Regions from separate parts of the Homo sapiens genome. Here region 2 is linked to region 1. Evidence: promoter capture Hi-C in 16 types of primary human blood cells and fetal thymus (Javierre and others, 2016). All regions are on one chromosome and are shown on one strand. The core of a region is centred on a gene start or on the middle of the fragment in contact, and the rest is flanking DNA. Distances in the headings are between cores, read along the strand shown.

The links. The method cuts DNA at HindIII sites, captures the fragments that hold promoters and counts their contacts. A CHiCAGO score of 5 or more calls a contact.
Region 2: a contact is called between a fragment that was not itself captured here and the fragment with the promoter of TEKT2 in region 1, in 1 of 17 cell types (erythroblasts). The highest score is 5.7, in erythroblasts.

Annotation. Positions count from the first base shown.
Region 1 is chr1:36,079,322-36,085,646 of GRCh38, forward strand. TEKT2 (tektin 2) reads left to right here and starts at 4,773. Exons shown (of 10, transcript NM_014466.3): 1 at 4,773-4,828; 2 at 5,549-5,756; 3 at 5,842-5,967. The coding sequence starts at 5,601. It also overlaps the pseudogene LOC100128093. RefSeq lists an enhancer at 5,343-6,141. The HindIII fragment of the contact is 20,325 bases long and covers 1-6,325 here.
Region 2 is chr1:35,821,735-35,828,853 of GRCh38, forward strand. It overlaps AGO4 (argonaute RISC component 4), which reads left to right. Exons shown (of 18, transcript NM_017629.4): 3 at 1,128-1,248; 4 at 3,579-3,760; 5 at 3,945-4,081; 6 at 4,192-4,326; 7 at 5,014-5,101. Among named protein-coding and RNA genes, the nearest start is that of AGO4, 17 kb to the left of the region's middle. The HindIII fragment of the contact is 883 bases long and covers 3,677-4,559 here.

The DNA of each region.
Region 1 (6,325 bases), core at 3,523-6,022:
AATACCTTGTCAAGATATTATTTTTCGGCCGGGCACTGTGGCTAATGTCTGTAATCCCAGCACTTTGGGAGGTCAAAGGGGTGGATCACTTGAGATCAGGAGTTCAAGACCAGCCTGGCCAACATGGCAAAACCCCGTCCTTACTAAAAATACAAAAAGGTAGCCGGGCGTAGTGGCACACGCCTGTAGTCCCGGCTACTCAAGAGGCTGAGGCAGGAGAATCGCTTGAACCCAGGAGGCGGAGGTTGCAGTGAGCTGAGATTGTGTCACTGATCTCCAGTCTGAGCAACAGAGGGAGACCTTGCCTCAAAAGAAAAAGAAAAAAGATTATTTTTTGGCTGGGCGCAGTGGCTCACGCCTGTAATCCCAGCACTTTGGGAGGCCGAGGTGGGCGGATCATGAGGTCAGGAGATCAAGACCATCCTGGCTAACATGGTGAAACCCCATTTCTACTAAAAATACAAAAAAATTATCCAGGCCTGGTGGCAGGCGCCTGTAGTCCCCGCTTTTTGGGAGGCTGAGGCAGGAGAATGGCGTGAACCCAGGAGGCGGAGCTTGCAGTGAGCCAAGATTGCACCACTGCACTCCAGCCTGGGCAATAGAGTGAGACTCCATCTCAAAAAAAAAAAAAAAAAAAAGAAAAGAAAAAAGATTATTTTTCATATTAGAATAAGATCAGCTGACCAAATATTAATATTAACTAAGGTACTTTTAAACATTGTAAAACATTGTTCTGATTCGATGAAAGTTGTACTCTCTAAAGATTTTAATAATTGGACTTGAGGTAATCTATAACACTCGGGGAGAAAAATTAAGAACAGAGAAGATACATACCATAATACTTGACAGATTTTGAAAGCACTTAAAGCACTTATGGTCTCTTTTGGTGAAATCTCAATTACTTTAAAAAGCTATGAGTTTGCATTTTTCTGCTTCACATTTTTTTTTTCAAATTTCTTGCTTCATTGTCTATGTCTGTAGGATCCTTTTTAATCCCAGACAAAGCTGTATGGATAGTCAGGTACTTTAAATCTAAAGAGGGAAAGCAGCCGACTGAAGAATATGGCAACAAGACACATACCAGCCAGACACATCATCTTTCTCTTTCTGATGTTCATCGTAGAGGTGGCAGCCTTGTCTAACAGCACCATTCCCAGGCTAACACACATATTAAACAGGGAAATAATGAATGTTTCTGCTGCAAACTGAGCCTGACTAAATTTACTGATATAATGTTTATGTCCTGTGTGAGGGTCCCTTTGGACATATGGTTCTCCTCTTATATAAGTCCACATTTGACCAGACGTCATCACAATCACAAAGCACAGAGTTAAAACTTCGCACAAAATTCTGCAAGAAATAGATTTCCTATTCCATTTCAAGAAATACCCAAGTCCACCAATGAGAGCCAGAAGTATCCCTGGCTTGAGGAGACCATGATAATTTATTTGTAGGCTGTCTGATTCTGACGCTGACATGTGTTCTTTCTGCTACCCATTCAGCCATTTGGTCAGCAACAATATCCCTTCCTCTCAAATTATAAATGTCATCTGTTGTAAATTTCCATTGGGCAGAAAAGTGGAAGAAACTCGGAACTGACGTTACCTGGAGCGCTTCAAAGACCTCAGGGCTTTCATCATAATCCACCATTGCAAAAAATACCTTTGTGGTGAATGCACCAGGGCGTTGATAGGAATTTGCCAAGATCTGAAATTCTTCAGCAGCACCTTTGCACATGACACATGAACTGAACGCGTGGAGAGCAGCAGTAAGCATCACAATAACAGAATAGTTTTTTGGTGCATCTAATACAAAATGATAGAACATGGTGTCACTCATTCTTATCACTCTGTCTTTCTTGGTCCAACCCATCAGCTGGCTGACCTTTTTGGCCAACCCCTTCTTCCATCGGGAAGGATGTGTAGGAACCCCGGGAGCCACGAATAACAGGGCCACCACTATGGTCAAAAGTAGACGCCAAAGCCACCACACTTCTGCCATATTTGCTTACTTCTTTGTGTTATACCACTGTTGCAAAATATGTAAGCCAAAATTTGATCATTTCTTCCTGCAATTAATTTGTCCAAGATTTTTTTCTTTCTATCTTCTTCAATCCTGGTAAAGAGGCTATATCACAAATTCTTGTTCATGTCCAGTTTACAAGTCATATATTAGAGTTTACAAAATAACCTGTGGAAAAAAATACTCTGTAATGAAGGGAGTTTGGGAATTAGTGTTCTGGCTTCAGTCCTGCTGAACGACAGACTTGCAATTAACAAGTCAGGCCGGGCATGGTGGCTCACGCCTGTAATCCCAGTACTTTGGGAGGCCAAGCTGGGCAGATCACCTGAGTTTGAGTTTGAGACCAGCCTGGCCAACATGGTGAAACCCCGTCTCTACTAAAAATATAAAAATTAGCCAGGTGTGGTGGCGCATGCCTGTAGTCCCAGTTATTCGGGAGGCTGAGGCAGGAGAATCACTTGAACCCGGGAAGGAGAGGTTGCAGTGAGCCAAGATCATGCCACTGCACTCCAGCCTGGGCAACAGAGTAAGACTCTGTCAAAAAAAAAAAACCAAATAAAACAAAACAAAAAAAAACAACCCCAATGCCTGCTAGGCAGCAGCTGGATCCACTGTGTACACCTCAAACTGCTCAAAAACTGCTCAAAAGCCAACCTCATCCCCCAATTGCCTACCAAGCCCTTGCTTCTCTACTGTTCTTCCCATCCCCCCAGTGACGTTTTACAACTGAAGGACCCTTCTGGGACTTCTTTCCCCCTGGGCCCAACTGCCTGGGTTTCAATCCAGGCTGTACCACTTGTTAGTGATGTGACCTGGGCACGTCCTCACTGGCCTATGCCTCAGTCTCCCTGCCTATAAAGTGAAGATGGTAACAGTACCCACCTCATAGGATCCGGTTCAGCAGAGTCCTCAGAACAGGACCAGGCCTGCACACCTGTCTTCCTCTCTATCCCAGCCCCCCATGAGAGGCAGTGTGGAGCACAGCAGAGTGTCCTCTGGGTGGGGCCAGAACACCTGGGTTTCCCTCCCTGCTTTTTAGCAGTGTGTCTCTTTTGTTACCTAAGAAAGTGGGGACAATGCCCACCTCACCTATTAGTTGTGAAGATTAAATGTTAATATTTTTCCAACCCCTAGAAATACTAGGCAATACCAGACAATACAGTACTAGACAATAAGACAAACATGATTTTTTTTCCCTTCTTTTTTTAAAGAAATGGTTGAATATTGAGCATTGCTTCTCTGGTTTTTTTGTGTTTTGTTTTGTTTCATTTTGTTTTTTGAGACAGAGTCTCGTTCTGTTCCCCAGGCTGGAGTTCAGAGGCGTGTTATCAGCTCACTGCAACCTCCGCCTCCCAGGGTCAAGTAATTCTCCTGCCTCAGCCTCCCGAGTAGCTGGGATTATAGGCGTGTGCCACCAGAGCATTGCTTCTCATACCCCAGTTACCTCTCTCAGGGTTGTGCCCTCTCCAAACATGATTATCATCCCTTTATCATTCCTTGTATGACCTTCAAGATGGGCAAAGTTGTTGGGCAAGACAGAATAGAAGAAATGTTGTAAACAACATTAACTATCCATCCATTGCTGGAGGGGACCTGCTGGGGAGTGCACCTGATTTTAATTTTAATTAATTAATCTATTTTTTGAGATGGAGTCTCACTCTGTCACCCAGGCTGGAGTGCAGTGGCACCACCTCAGCTCACTGCAACCTCTGCCTCCAGGCTCAAGTGATTCTCCTGCCTTAGCCTCCCAAGTAGCTGGGATTACAGGCACCTGCCACCACACCTGGCTAATTTTTGTGTTTTTAGTAGAAACAGCGTTTTACCACGTTGGCCAGGCTGGTCTCCAACTCTTGACCTCAGGTGATCCACCTGCCTCAGCCTCCCAAAGTGTTGGTATTACAGGCGTGAGCCACCTTGCCTGGCCAAATTTTGTATTTTTTGTAGAGATGGGGTTTCGCCATGTTGCCCAGGCTGGTCTCCAACTCCTGGACTCAAGCGATCCACCTGGTCTCGGCCTCCCAGAGTGCTGGGATCTCAGGCCTGAGTCGCTGCGCCCAGCCTACTTTTTCTATGTACTGTTCGTTTGCTGGCAACTACTATGTTTCTGAGGCTGACCTCGAAATCCTAGCCTCAAGCGCTCCTCCCGCCTGGGTCTCTGGAGTAGCTGGGATTACAAGCGTGAGCCACTGCACTTGGTTTCGTATTTTCTATCATGTCTATGCATACCTTTATCAAAATAAAATTGTTTAGGCCGGGGCAGTGACACATCTGTAATCCCAGCATTTTGGGAGGTTGTGATGGGTGGATCGCCTGAGGCCAGGAGTTTGAGACCAGCCCGGGCAAAATGGTGAAACCCTGTCTCTACTAAAAATTTTTTTTTTAATTTAGCCAGGTGTGGTGGCACGCGCCTGTGGTCCCAGCTAACTCGGGAGGCTGAAGTGGGAGAATCGCTTCAGTCGGGGAGGTTCAGGCTGCAGTGAGCCGAGACTGAGCCACAGCACTCCAGCCTGGGCGACAGAGCGAGATCCTGTCTGAAAAGACAACAAATGTTCATTTAATTTGTAAATCAAGTGAAAGCGCTGCCCTGATGCCCCCCACCTCTCCCAGGCTCGGCCGGCCGCCCCTCGCCTACCCTAAAGGCCTCCGGGGACGCCGCCCGACGCCGCCGCGGTTGCCAAGCGAAGCGCCCAGGCCGCGTTGGCCGCGGGGGGTTGGGGGGGTAGGGGAGGGGTGGTTGCCTAGCAACCGGTGGTGCCAAACACTGGAGCTCAGAGCGGGGGGCGCGGAGAGCGAAGCGGGAAAGGAGGTAAGGGAGCTAGGGAAGCGGGGGCGCCCCCTTCCTCCGCGCTGGACCGGGGTACTGATCTAAACCAAAGGCGATCATCCTGCGGAGGGGAAGAAAGGGGTTTGACGGGGAACCGGACTGACCCCAGCTCTTCCCACGGGGCTCTCCCTGTCCGGCCTTCCCCTCCAACAGTAGGCGAGGGCGGAGGGGCGGGAGGGCGTGGCGGCTACCAGACGGGGAGGGGGCCGCCCCGGGGGCCGCCCCCCAGCTCCCCAGTGCCAACAGGCACGCGTCCCTGGAGACAGAACAGGGCTCCTGCCCTTAGATCCCCCACGGGGACTGGCCCGCAGCCTGGGGAAGAAAGGAAAGGAAGATCAACAAGGCATGGTTGGCTGGGGGCAGGTGTGGAAAATGCATTAAGGGCAATTTTTTTCTGCCATCCGCCTACCCCCCAGGCATTTGGCACTTCACACACACTTCGAGGCTTCCGGGACTCCATTATTCCTTTTTACCTGCTCCAGGACCTGCAAGGTCCAGGGGTTTGTGTCCGCCTGGGGACGGGAGGGAGGGAAACTTAGTTAATACCTCACACAAAGTTGAGTAAAGCAAGGGCTGTCTCCAAGCAGGCTTCCAGCAGGACAGGGCTCAGAGCAAAATGGACAGGAACAAGTCCTGCGCAGGGGGCGTGTGATCCAGGAGGTCTCCGGAAAGGTCTCCCGCAGCAGTGTTTTCCCTCTGCAGGTGGTGTCTGTGAACAGGCCTAGGGGTTTCTGACCCTTCTGGTTTCTGTGCCATGGCCACGCTGAGCGTCAAGCCAAGTCGGCGCTTCCAGCTGCCCGACTGGCACACTAACAGCTACCTGCTATCCACCAATGCCCAGCTGCAGCGAGATGCTTCCCATCAGATCCGCCAGGAGGCCCGGGTGCTCCGCAACGAGACCAACAACCAGGTTGGGGATGGGAACTCAGCTGGGTGGGCAAAGGGATAGCCCCCAACCCCTTGACACCCTCTCTATCTGGCTCTGTCTCTCTCAGACCATTTGGGATGAACATGACAACAGGACTCGACTGGTGGAGAGGATTGATACTGTCAACCGGTGGAAGGAGATGCTGGACAAGTGTCTGACAGATTTAGATGCCGAGATCGATGCCCTGACACAGGCAGGGATCCAGGACTGGGTGCCCGGGGGCTGCTGCCGAAACCTCCCCTCCTTCCCCACAGCTAGGTTGAGAAGCCCTTGATGGGGGGTCATGAGTGGCATGTCCATCCGAGTCACTGGCCCCCTGCTAAAGTGGGGACAAGCGCTACTTCCCCATGGATGGCCCCACCAGCACCCCCGCCCACTCTTTTCTTTTCTTTTTTTTTCTTTCTTTCTTTTCTTTTTTTTTTTTTTTTTTTTTTTTTGAGACAGCATCTGGATCTGTTGCCCAGGCTGGAGTGCAGTGGTGTGATCGTGGCTCACTGCAACCTCCGCCTCCTGGGCTCAAGCGATTCTCCTGCCTCAGCCTCCTGAGTAAA
Region 2 (7,119 bases), core at 2,868-5,367, 260 kb before region 1:
ACTTTGGAATAAGACAAGACGGTATACAGAATAATAAATCACTGGCATTAGGCAAAGGGGTTGACTTATTTGTGTATCATGGATCTTAGATTTACTGATCCTCAGATTTTTAAATTCCTGCTGATTCTCTTTCTCAAAACCAATATACTTGAATAAGGATTTTTTTTTTTTTTGACAGAGTTTTACTCTGTTGCCCAGGCTGGAGTACAGTGGAACGATCTCAGCTCACTGCAACCCCTGCCTCCTGGGTTCAAGCGATTCTCGTGCCTCAGCCCCCCAAGTACCCGGGATTACACCATGCCTGACTAAGTTTTCTATTTTTTTTAGTTGAGACTGGGTTTCACTGTGTTGGCCAGGCTAGTCTCGAACTCCTGACCTCAAGTGATCCACCTGCCTCGGCCTCCCAAAGTGCTGGAATTGCAGGCATGAGCCACCACGCCCAGCCAGGATATTGATTTGATGACAAACTTATCATCGTTCAGTGATGTACCTCCGTGTCAAACTTAGATATCCAAGATAGGTTATTCTTTTTTTTCTTGAGACAGAATTTCACTCTTGTTGCCCAGGATGGAGTGCAATGGCACGATCTTGGTTCACCACAACCTCCGCTTCCCAGGTTCAAGCGATTCACCTGCCTCAGCCTCCTGAGTAGCTGGGATTACAGGCACGTGCCACCATGCCGGCTAATTTTGTATTTTTAGTAGAGACAGGGTTTCACTGTGTTGGTCAGGCTGGTCTCGAACTCCTGACCTCAAGTGATCCACCCACCTCAGCCTCCCAAAGTGCTGGGATTACAGCCGTGAGCCACCACACCCAGCCAGGTTATTCTTATAAGGCTGTGTTTATCACAGGAGAGGATTTTGGAAAGAGGAGGTTGAGAGGATACCATAAATGTTATTCTCTCTTTTATTCCCCATTTCTGATATCATCTTACAGTTGTTTTTGTACACTTGTTGCTACCTTTCTTTAGTTAACTATTTTTTAAAGTACTCGAATCAATTGTAACCTTAACTCTTACTTTTTCCAAGTAATACTGAACCGAATTTAAATGATTAAAGTATGATGATGCTTTTCTTACTGTTCACCATTTCTGAAAGCTAACTGCCATTATCTCCATTACTGTGAAGGGAGGTAGTAGATACAATGGTGCGGCACTTCAAGATGCAAATATTTGGTGATCGGCAGCCTGGGTATGATGGCAAAAGAAACATGTACACAGCACATCCACTACCAATTGGACGGGATAGGGTAAGTGTTAAGAGCAAGAAATACTTAGTTCATTTAGTAGTAATTATACATGACAAAAATATTTCCTTTTCTTCCCAACACACACAAAAAACATAAATGTTTGAGGTGATGATATCCTAATTAACCTGATTTCATTATTACACATTGCATACAGATATCAAAATATCACATGTACCCCAAAAGTATGTACAACTGTCATATATCAATTTTAAAAAATCTGTATGTGAGCAGAAACAAAAGTTTCTGTAATAACACATCAATTCTTAGAAATTTTTTTTTTTTTTTTTTGAGATGGGATCTCGCTCTGTCACCCAGGCTGGAATGCAGTGGTTTGGTCTCCACTCACTGAAACCTCTGCCTCCCAGATTCAAGTGATTCTCCTGCCCCAGCCTTCCAAGTAGCTGGGATTACAGGCATGTGCCACCACACCTGGCTAATTTTTATTTTATTTTTTTCCTTGAGAGACGGAGCCTTGCTCTGTTGCCCAGGCTGGAGTGCAGTGGCGCGATCTCGGCGCAGTGCAACTTCCACTTCCTGGGTTCAAGCGATTCTCCGGCCTCAGCTTCCCAAGTATCTGGGACTATAGGCGTGTGCCACCACGCCCAGATCATTGTTGTATTTTATTAGTAGAAATGGGGGTTTCACTATATGTTGGCCAGGCTGGTCTCGAACTCCTGACCTCAGGTGATCCACCCGCCTCAGCCTCCCAAAGTGCTGGGATTACAGGCATGAGCCACTGCGCCTGGCCTTAATTTTTATTATTATTATTATTTTTTTTTTTAGTACAGATGGGGTTTCACCATGTTGGACAGGCTGGTGTCAAACTCCTGACCCCAGGTGATCCACCATCTCAGCCTCCCAAAGTGCTGGGATTACAGGCATGAGCCACCACGCCCAGCGAGAGTTGTTTTTTATAGTGATGATAGATTTGTTATTCTGTCCATATTCTCTTGTCTTAGTTAACTGATAATTGAAAATGAGATGAGCATTAGGATTGAGGTTGATTATGTCATCTTTACGTAATTTCTCACATTAACCATGTACTTTAACAAAGTACTACCTGAATCTGAACAACAGAGTTTTATAAATTATAGAAAACTATATAATACTCACTTATGAAAATAGATTATAATAGCACAATACTTTTTTAAACATTTATTTTTTTTAAATTAGAAAAGTACTGTGTGAACATATGCTCATAATAAATTTATCCAGACAATCTAGAAATGCTGTGATTTACCGCCTCCACCACTTATCTGCACCCTCACTACCATTTTCCTTTCCAAAGGAAACTACTATAGTAGTTTGGTATGTATCTTTTTAGATATGTTATGTATATTAGCTGCTATTTATACATATGTTGATGTGTATTCTTATTGTTTTGCATGTCACTCTATGATTTGCTTTTCATTTAACAATATGCCTGAAAGATCTTTCCATTTCTATACATTTATATCTACCTTATTATTTTTTTTCAAATTTAAGTTTTTATTGTTGTAAAATAATATATAACATAAAATTTACTATTTTTGGCTGGGTGTAGTGCTTCACCCAGCCAAAAATCCCAGTGCTGTGGGAGATCGAGGTGGGAGAATTGCTTGAGGCCAGTAGTTTGAGACCAGCCTGAGCAACACAGGGAGACCCATCTCTACAAAAAAAAAATTTCTAATTAGCCAGGCATGGTGGTGTGCACTTGTAATTCCAGCTACTTGGGAGGCTAAAGTGGGAGGATCCCTTGAGCCCAGGACTTTGAGGCTACAATAAGTTATTATTGCACCACTGCACTCCAGCTTGGATGACAGAGCAGGACCCTGTCTCAAAAAAAACTTATGATGTTATGTTACAGTTTAATGGCATTATGTATGTTCACATTGTTGTGCATCCATCATCACTATCCATTTTCAGAACTTTTTCATCATTCCAAACGAAAACTCTGTACCTATTAAACAATAATTCCCCATACCCTACTGTCCCTGGTCCCTGAGAACCACTATTCTACTTTCTGTCCCTTTAAATTTGACTATTCAATGTACTTCATAGAAATAGAATCATGAAATATTTGTCTTTTTGTATCTGGCTTGTTTCATTTAGCATAATGTTTTCAAGCGTCATCCATGTTATAACATCTACCTTATTTTTTCACTATTGTATAATGTTACATATTAAATTATACCCCTACTCATGGACACTAAGTTGTTTCCAATGTTACACAATTGTAAAAAAAAGTTAAAAGAAATATCCTTATGCATGTATCATACTGCATATTCTTGGGATCTTTCCCACAGCCATTGTAAACATTTGTGTTTGTATTCATGTATTTTTTTCCTTAGGTTGATATGGAGGTGACTCTTCCAGGCGAGGGTAAAGACCAAACATTTAAAGTGTCTGTTCAGTGGGTGTCAGTTGTGAGCCTTCAGTTGCTTTTAGAAGCTTTGGCTGGGCACTTGAATGAAGTCCCAGATGACTCAGTACAAGCACTTGATGTTATCACAAGACACCTTCCCTCCATGAGGTTAGTACCTTGGTTTGGATTATTTCCTACAAATGTCAGACTTTTTTGGTAGGTTGTACTGGAGCCATTGAAAAATTTCTGCATAAGTCATTGTTCAAATTTGATTTCAGCTCCCAGAGTTGAGAGTGAAATGAAGGACCTTTCACATGTTTAATGTGACACATGCAAACTCTTATTTCTTCAGGTACACCCCAGTGGGCCGTTCCTTTTTCTCACCCCCGGAAGGTTACTACCACCCTCTGGGAGGGGGCAGGGAGGTCTGGTTTGGTTTTCATCAGTCTGTGAGACCTGCCATGTGGAATATGATGCTCAACATTGATGGTAGGATGGAACTCTCTTTATCCAATAACTCTTTGGGCTGGTTTTTGTTTGTTTGTTTGTTTTGGCCCTTCCCTTTTCCCTGAAGTGAAGTATCCTTCTCTGTTTGTTAGTATCTGCAACTGCTTTCTACCGGGCTCAGCCTATCATTGAGTTCATGTGTGAGGTTTTAGACATTCAGAACATCAATGAACAGACCAAACCTCTAACAGACTCCCAGCGTGTCAAATTTACCAAAGAAATCAGAGGTAAGTGTTTGCATTAATGTAGTCTTGGAGAAGCAGCTCAGCATGCTGCACGTTGCCTGTGCTCTGGAGTCACACAGACCTGGGCTTCGGTCTCAGGCTAACCACTTCTATCAATGGGACCTTGGTCAAGTTCCTTAACCACTGTGAACCTTAGTGTATTCATCTCTAAGGTAAAGATAATAATATATACCTTGTAGAGTTGTTGTGAGAATTAAATGCAATTAGGCTTATAAAGCTTTCTAGCATAGTACCTGTCACATATCAGGCACTCAGTAAATGCTATGCTTACCCACTTAAGAACTTCCATTTTAATAAAATAACATAAATTCATTTATTATCCTTCTGGGATTTCTTTTCTTCTTGTTATTAGTTAGTTTCCCTCACTAGAATATAAACTTCACGAAAGCTGTCTCCAGACCTGAAAATAAGCATCAGAACATAGTTGATGCTTAATAAATATTTATTGGATGAAATAATAAACTAAAGGAGATTGAGCATCTTAGGTAATCTGAGTTCTAATTTATTCTGCTTAACTCAGGTTTTTTGCCTATAACGATGAAATTGTCCCCATATTCTTGCAATTTTTATCCTGTACAATGTCATGACATTTTGAAGACAACATTTGAATCTGTTTTTGCCACTGTGATTTTAATTAACTGATGTTTTGCCTTTTAAAAAAAATTTCAGGTCTCAAAGTTGAGGTGACCCACTGTGGACAGATGAAACGAAAATACCGAGTTTGTAATGTGACTAGACGGCCAGCCAGTCATCAAACGTATGTTAACCACATCTAAAGTAATACAATTACATTTTTAGTAACAGAGGGAGCTACTATAATTGTTTTAAGAAATTGGTTATTGGCCGGGCACAGTGGCTCACACCTGTAATCCCAGCACTTTGAGAGGCCGAGGTAGGTGGATCATGAGGTCAGGAGTTCAAGACCAGCCTGGCCAAGATGGTGAAACCCCATCTCTACTAAAAATACAAGAAAACTAGCTGGGCGTGGTGGCGGGTACCTGTAACACCAGGTACTCGGGAGGCTGAGGCAGAGAATTGTTTGAACCTGGGAGGTGGAGGTTACAGTGAGCCGAGGTCACACCACTGCACTCCAGCCTGGGCAACAGAGCAAGACCCTGTCTCAAAAAAAATTAATAAATAAAAAGAAATTGGTTATCTTGGCCAGGCATGGTGGCTCACACCTGTTATCTCAGCACTTTGGGAGGCCGAGCCAGGCAGATCACTTGAAGTCAGGCGTTCGAGACCAGCCTGGCCAACATAGTGAAACCCCGTCTCTACTAAAAACTACAAAAATTAGCCAGGCTTAGTGGCAGGCGCTTGTAATCCCAGCTGCTTGGGAGGTTGAGGCAGGAGAATCGCTTGAACCCAGGAGGCAGAGTTTGCAGTGAGCCAAGATCACACCTTGTACTCCAGCCTGGGTGACAGAGTGAAACTCCATCTCAAAAGAAAAAAAGAAAGAAATTGGTTATCTTATACTGAAATTTTCAAGATCACGAGAATCTTTGCTTTTAACACCAAAGTTTTAAAACATTTTCTGAATATTTTTGGTAGAGGTATTTATAAAACACATTCCTTGCCTTTAATTCAATTTACCTCTTAAGTAGAGTATGTTAAACATAGATTAACTTTTATTTAATCTATGTTTTATTTAATCTTTTTATTTAATGATGCAGAGTCATTATAAGCTTTTTTTTATTATACTGTTGTTATTCTTTTTTTTTTTTTTTTTTTTCTTTTGGAGACAGGGTCTCACTCTGTCACCTTCTGGGCTCAAGTGAACCTCCCACCTCAGACTTCCAAGTAGTGGGATTACAGGCATGCACCACCACACTCGCCTAATTTTTTTTGTAGAGGTGGGGTTTTGCTATGTTGCCCAGTCTGGTCTTGAATTCCTGGGCTCAAACAGTTTGCCCGCCTCGGCCTCCCAAAGTGCTGGGACTACAGGTGTGAACCAGCACACCCAGCCTACTGTTGTAATTCTTAATACATGGCTCAAAAGGTCTATTAAGGCCTAGATATCATATAAGGCTGTCAGGAGAAGACATACATGTAAATAAAATATATGAGAAGACATTTTATATGTATGTATGTATCTTCTAAAAAAAATACAGACACACGTATATATATAGTGCTTGGCACCGTCATGGCCCACTGCAGCCTCAGCTTCCTGGGCTCAAGCAATCCTCCCACCTCAGCCTCCTGAGTATCTGGGACTACAGGCATGTGCCACCATGCCTGGCTAATTTTTGTATTTTTAATAGAGATGGGGTCCCACTTTGTTGCCCAGGCTGGGAGAAGACATCTATTGCTTTGTGTTTTGTGTGGATTTCTCTCCCTCCCTTTGTAGGTAGCTGTCACTTCTTACAGCTGTTGGTGTCTATGGCATCCTCCAGCAGCATACTCCTTTCCATTTCCCCAATCTCATTTTCCTAATCACCCAACACTTCTTTTTTTTTTTGAGACAGAGTTTAGCTCTTGTTGCCCAGGTTGGAGTGCAATGTCGTGATCTCTGCTCACTGCAACCTCCACCTCCCCGGTTCAAGCGATTCTCCTGCCTCAACCTCCCAAGTAGCTGGGATTACAGGCACCTGCCACCATGCCCAGCTAATTTTTTGTATTTTTGGTAGAGACAGGGTTCCTCTATGTTGGCCAGGCTGATCTTGAACCCCTGACCTCAGGCAATCCACCCGCCTCGGCCTCCCAAAGTGCTGGGATTACAGGCATGAGCCACTGCGCCCAGCCCATCACCCAACACTTCTAATCTACTGAAAACTG